Linked DNA regions of Homo sapiens: region 1 is linked to region 2. The links are contacts of gene promoters, found by promoter capture Hi-C in blood cells and fetal thymus (Javierre and others, 2016). All regions are on one chromosome and are shown on one strand. The core of a region is centred on a gene start or on the middle of the fragment in contact, and the rest is flanking DNA. Distances in the headings are between cores, read along the strand shown.

What was found. The method cuts DNA at HindIII sites, captures the fragments that hold promoters and counts their contacts. A CHiCAGO score of 5 or more calls a contact.
Region 1: a fragment that was not itself captured here is called in contact with the fragment with the promoter of NKAIN2 in region 2 in 1 of 17 cell types (M2 macrophages); the score reaches 5.9 in M2 macrophages.

Annotation. Positions count from the first base shown.
Region 1 is chr6:124,746,591-124,750,059 of GRCh38, reverse strand. All of the region lies in intron 4 of NKAIN2 (sodium/potassium transporting ATPase interacting 2), which reads right to left. Among named protein-coding and RNA genes, the nearest start is that of RNF217, 210 kb to the left of the region's middle. RefSeq lists a silencer at 2,450-2,650. The HindIII fragment of the contact is 936 bases long and covers 915-1,850 here.
Region 2 is chr6:123,802,450-123,805,767 of GRCh38, reverse strand. NKAIN2 (sodium/potassium transporting ATPase interacting 2) reads right to left here and starts at 1,903. Exons shown (of 7, transcript NM_001040214.3): 1 at 1,514-1,903. The coding sequence starts at 1,567. RefSeq lists an enhancer at 3,098-3,147. The HindIII fragment of the contact is 9,489 bases long and covers 1-3,318 here.

The DNA of each region.
Region 1 (3,469 bases), core at 133-2,632, 940 kb before region 2:
GTCAGAGTGACTAGGTCAAATACAAATCAAAATGGTTTCCAAGCTGATGCTATTTCAATTATATCACATGTCCCCAAAGAGAAATTTCATCCAAGCAGAAAGGAAGTTCCATCCAAGCAGAAAGAAGAGCATGTGCAAAGATAAGCATAAGTGGCACAGAATTTTGCAAGTATTTTGGTGTATTATAGGAAATGAAGGGGAAATAGTGGGAAATGGGGTTATAAAATAGGGTGAGATCAAATTATGAAGAATCAGATTTGCCAAACAAAATAAATGGGATTTAATATTATAGTGTGGATTTTTGATCTACAATTTTAGAATTTTATGCAGAGAATTGGGGCATAAGTTGACAATGACAGAAATCTGGAGGGTGCACTGGGATTGAAAGAGCATGTGGGGGACAATCCAAAGGACCAGATGAACAAAATAAACAAAGTACAAAGTCCTTTCCCAGTATGACGATGCACACAGTGTGACTCCACCATAAAATCTCTTAGAGCCTTGTCCTGAGTGCTCATATAAGATTAGGACCTTATCCAAGGATGATGTAAAGTTAAAAACATACATTTATAATTTTCTTTTTTACCCTAGAATAAATTTATAAATTTGTTGTTGAGATAGGCAGGGTGAGGTCCCCAAATACGTCCATCCCCTAGTCCCTATAACCTGCGAACCTGTTACATGACATAGCTAAAGGAACTTCACAGATATGAAAAAGGTTACAGATCTTGAGATGGGGAAATTATTCTGGATTATACAGATGGACTGTGTTCAGTCACAGGAGCTCTTAAAAGCAGAGACGCTTTCCCAGCTTGGGTCAGAGAGATTCATCATGAGAAGATCTCCACTAGCTGTTGCTGGATTTCAGGATGGAGGAAGACTCAAGCAGAGAGACCTGGTGGCCACTAGAAGCTTGGAACAGCCCTCAGTTGATAGCAAGGAAATGAGGACTCAGTGACACAACCTCAAAGAACTGAATTCTTTCAATGACCTGAATATTAATGAAATGAAATTTCTCCTAGAACCTCTGGAAAAGAATGCAGCCCTGCTAACACTGTAATTTCAGCTCAGTGAGACTGTGTTAGACTTCTGACCTACAGAAGTCGTGAGACAATAAATTTTTGTTGTTTTAAACCATTAAGTTTATGGTTCCTTGTTACAGCTGCAATAGAAAACGAATATACTTGCACACTTCTTTTTTTTTTTAAATTAGAAGTTAATATCAGAGCTGGGGAAAGTAGCAAATGGTTCTCAACTGGTTCTAAGAAAAGATTTAATCAATATTTTCACACAAACTCAGTAAATCAAATGGATAAACTAGAGAAACCCACAGATAAAGACACAAAACCCAGTGTCTTTAGTGCTCTGAATAGCAGAAAACAAGACGATAGATCTGCGCTTTATGTTGAAATTTTTATAACTTCCTCCGTGTTTATTTATTGCATTTTATCTTGTTTTGTCTGAAAAGTGATTGGCACTGATACTCTTAAACTGTAAAAAAAATCTTTGTTATCACCTTTGTGGGAAGACAGGGAAACAAAGAAGCTCTTTGGGACAAGCAGGTGGCAGTTACCACCAAAGGTGAGAAAAGCATCTGTACCCTTGGAATCTGGGGCAAAGGAATCAGGAGAGCATGGGAGCTTTCCTGATGTAAGAAGAGTGCCTGTAGGTGTTAAGAGCAGAAAGGCTTATGCTCTTTTGTGCTTCACTTATTCATTGACTTATTCATTCAATAAATACTTACTGAGTGCCTCCAAGTGTTAACTGCTGGCTTACCCATTACAGAACTCCCAGTCTAATGGGGCTGTGTAAACCAACAGTTGCATAGTGGAAAATGCCAAGATAAAGCTTTACAGGTAATTGTTGATATGGTGCTAAGACAAAGTGCTTGTGTACGTGTTGTGGCCTTATTGTTCTGCAACGATACTTGTACAGAGTTAAATGTTAAGAAACTTTCATGGCAAATTGTGGTGTGATTTTCATGACTGTTGAATATAATAACCACAAAGTGTGCTTAGTTTTTTCATCTTCTTATTTCACTTTTGTGATAATTTGTTTTTATTATATTTTTCAAAAACATTCATTGTGACGGACTGGCAAAAAAAATTGTTTGTGAAGCACTATTGTAACATTTAAAAGAAGTGCTAAGACTATATCATGAGGAAATAGAGGGAAGAAAGGGAAGAGTCAGGAGTATCCTATTTCAATTTTTGCTTTGAATTGAGTGTTTCATATTTTAATGAGGCACATTATAAAAAATATAAGAATATTTTTGGGGAAGCAAATGCCCCTCATCTGCTTGCATGTAGGCCCCCCTCCTCCATTTCTCTTGTGGGCCCAATTCTTTGGAGAAACTTACATGTGGCAAAAATGTATGCGACTATTCATCCCATCAATGAAAGATTTTAAAATAATTCATAACTGTTTAAGCAACACCCATACATGGGCTAAGCAAGTTTTCTTCTTCACCCTCTGTACTTGGAGCTTGTGCTAATTTTCCTGGCACGTTTACAGCTCTGGCTTCAGCATAACTTCTCTCCTTCACACTAAGCTGTTCTCTGATAAGGTGCAGCTGGGGAAATCCATTGCTCCCTGGACCAGTCAAGTTTTCACATCAGTTAAGTTAATTGACATAAGGCTTAACATATTTCTTGATTATGGCTGCAAAGTCATTACTAGAGGAATCCCCCAAATCATGGAAAAACAGTGTTTTCTGATTAATTGGCTCTGAAAATGGCTCAATAAAACTGCAACACACACCTGATGGAATTAGAATAAGGGACAAGGACAGCTCAGGAGAGACTCACAGAGTGAGAAAAGACCTGTGGGTGGTTAGGGACCAGGAAAGGACTGTGACCCCAGCTCTGGCCTTATTCAGCATCACTCAGCTTGGGTGACTGTGTCCTGCAAAACTTACAGGGCTATTATTAAAGAAATATTGAATATTATCTTTGAAATGGTTTTGAGAATTTAGTATCATAAACAGGATAAGATATTAATTCATAGAGAATAATGGCCAGTCATTTGTAGTTTTAAAAAAATACCTACTAGGCTTAATCCATATGTCATAACTTTTGTTGCTACAATTGCTTCAATTAGTCTTTGTTTTCTTTGGATATAATAGTGTTAATAGTACATTATTGATTCATAAAATTATAGAAGTGAAAGTGACCTTAGGAGGTGATCTAGTTCAATTTTCTCATTTTACGGATAAGAAAGCTGAGACTCTGTAAGATGAAGCGACGTCCCATAGGTCACTTAGCTTATTGATGGTAGAACCGAGTCTAGAAGTTTTTACATTTCTTGGCATTGAAAAATTTCTTTGTGTGATCATGGAAGTACTAAATGCTCATTGTAGAAAACTTGGGACATACTAAAGGTATAAAATAAATGAAAATCATACATAATTCCACAATTCAGAGATAAACATTCTTGATGATGTTTTACTGTATATCAGTACAGATATAAA
Region 2 (3,318 bases), core at 654-3,153:
AAAAATAAGAATGTTTTGAAAACCTTTATACAGTTTGGCAGACTTAGCCTAATGGGTTGTTTAACAAAGTAAACTCCCTCATTGTTTTGGTTAGCTTTATTATTAAGAGTAAAAATCCTTCATTGCAAAACTTATATGAATCTGTGGTACAGAAAAATAAACTGGTTTACACATCATTGAGAAACTACCACATTCTGAAAATTACATTTATAGTTCCATCTTTGTCTTACAACCAAGTGCATAAGCGCATAAATCACAGATCAAAATAGACACCATCAGATAACTTTCAGGGGAAAGAAAAACATCCTAAGACAACACACAACAAAAAGCACTGTTTCAGCTAAATATTAAACAAAGCAGCAATAACTAACACTCATGGGCTTCACGACAACTGATAAACAAGAACACTTAAGGAATTCCTCTGCCAGTTTCAATGGCAAATCCTTGCTCTTTTGAACACTTTACTGATTGGACACTTAAACATCTTCTGCCTTGTAGTCACTTCAACCTTTATGAAACAGTTGTTGAAAACGGACATGACTATTCCAGTTAATTTATACTTTCTAAGGAAATATATTTAATGACAAGTGTGAGCAAGTAGCTCCTACCTCAAATTAACCACTTAGAGTGGTGTATTTTTCACCTCTCAACTCTCTACTCAGACCCTCCTTCCATTGCCCTTAGGGAATTGAAATTCAGAGACATGACGTTTTCCATTATTGGTTCCTTGCCCCTTTGCAACTGTACAACATTCCTCAAAAAGTACATAGAATTCTCCATCCTATAGGATCAGACAACAGTATCTATTTCAGGAGCAATAATATGCATAATGTAAGACAGAATAGTTTTTCTTGGAATTGTCTGTGTTAATTGTGATTTAAAGGTTACTGGTTCCGTCTATGACAATGGTGTTGCTGAGTTCACCTAAGTATTTTTGTTCAATCTGCATACTTTAAAAACTCAATGTGGCTAAAACTCAAACAGTCTAAATTAGACTGTTGTAAGGATACCATGTGCCCTAAACAGTGGTTTTTTTAGAGCATTATACTTAAAGACAACATTTTCCTTAAAAAAAGAAAAAAAACATGTCTATGAAGAAACAAAGATACTGCAAAATTAGTATAGAGAAGAAAAGTCCAAAATTCCGTATTCCTCTGTTTAACAACCTGTACGGTAAATTGTAGGTGACAATCACGTTGTTACATGAATAGGAATGCAAAGCATAAAGAACAAGAGCTACATCTTGCTTTTCCTAAAGAAATTAAAGACAAGTTTAACCCGCACCTGCCAAACTGTCTTAAAAGGGACAGAAATAGGTGGGAACGGAAAGGCTCACCTCTCCTGTACCCCAGAGTGCGTCTCCCTGAAATCATCTTCAATATAGGCAATATATCTGTCACCTTCTCTTTTATCTTTTTCGTCCATTCTAGTCAATGGCAGACCCTTTGCTGCACTCCCCTGCCCACTATCTCAAAGACACATTACAGAATAAGGGGACCCAAGTGTCACTTACCAGTTGCATGCCACAGATAAAGATAAGCGTGCACCTGCCACTGCAATAACCCATGGTTTCCGAGACCCCTGCCACAGCCAGACTGTCCCACGTCGGCCACCGTCGAGCCCCCACTTTATCCAATCAGATCGCGGGGAAGGACACGCAAACCTGCCGAGGGCTCGGGGGCTCCGGGCTGCTGCTGCTGCCAGCGTCCTGGGAAGTGACAGGCATTAGGACCTGCTGGCGCGGCGGCGGCGGCGGCGGCAGCTCCAGCCGCGCCCGCCACACATACCTTCACTCGCTCGGTGCACACGCCGCGCCGCGGGCAGTGCCGCCTGCGGAGGCGCGCTCGGGGCCCGCAGGGGCAGCAGCGGCAGCCTGGCAGCGCCGCCGCGCCCTCGGGCATCTGGCCCGCGAAGTTTCGCCCCTGCCGCTCTCCGCGCCGCTCGCCTCACGCCCCCCAGCGCGGCCGCCGCCCGACGCGCGCTCGCCCTGCGCTCGCCGCGCGCCGGCTCCGGGGGCGGCAGAAGCGCGCGAGGGCCGCTGCCCGCCTCCCTGCGCAGCCCGCGGCTCCTAGGCACCCTGCGTTGCTGGGCCCGGCGGGCGGGGGTGGGGCGGGGAGCGGGGCGCGGGCCGAGCGGGGGCGTCCCGGCTCCGCGGTCCCCGGCGGCTGCTGCAGCGGCTGCTGCGCGCAATGATGCGGGTCCGCGCCGCGTCCCAGCAGCGGCGCTGCCCCTCCCTTCGCCCAGATGTGTGAATCCTCCTCCTACAACAAATCCTTCATCCTGCTCCCTGCCGCCCCCTCCCAGGGGGCCAACTTTGAGGACCGCAGGGGCTGCCGCCCAGGCGGCCGCAGGCGGCGGTGTCTAGGCGGAAAGGAGCGGCGCGAAAGCGGCGGCGGCGGGGACCGGGGCCTCGGGGCGAGGAGTCTGGGCGGCATGACCGCGGTTTGCTGAGCTGAAGTCGGTCGTGCTCCCAGAGCCACTCCGCGGGAGCGAACCGAGTGTGTGTGTGCGCGCGCGCTCGGGGGAGAAGGGACCAAGAGGAGGGTTAGGGAAGGAAGCTGGGGTCATGGAACAGGGGTGCAACCGAGGCATCCAGAGCGGCCGGAAAGCCCGAGTGGCGGAGAGGCCAGAGGTGGCGAGAAGGGGCGCGGCGGCACCGGACGCACCGCCCAGCACCTGGCTCCCCTGGGCTCCCGAGGATCTGAAGGGTCGGAGCGCGGAGAGCTACGGAGCCGACCCTGCTTGGGGAAGGGGACCGAGTTGCTGCTGGAGTTGGGAAAAATTAGCAACCGGAGGGAATAGGGATGCAATGAGTTGCTGTTGCTGCTTCAAACTGTTGTTTGTTTTCACTTAAAATACTAAAGAGTCGGAGACTAGTTTAATACTCAGTTACTTCAGCTTCACAGCAGTCCCAGCTGGGTGTGGATTCCTAGTGGAGATGCACCAGCCTCCGCTGAGCACCGGCCTGAAAGCTGTGAAGCGGCTGCTACCTGCAGAGACAGGCTTCGGAGCCCGCTGCTGCCACCTGCGGGCGGAAAGCTGAAGGGCGCAACATGCTGGCCCAAGTGGCTGCCCCTGGGGCGTGGATATTTAGGACCAAGTTTCCTTTTTAGCCCTGGCAGCTAAGGAAAGCAATCCTAACTTTTCCAGGAAGTGAAGATTATTTGTTGAGATCCACTGAGGAACTGACTCATTGGGGTGAAGTGTCGCGATTGATAAGAGGATGGTTTAGGGAGCTAAATAGCAAACAGCTCCCTAGCACCCTTCTTAAGAGATTAAGATGACGAAGCCACATCAAGCAGAGAGCTCTCTGTAGCA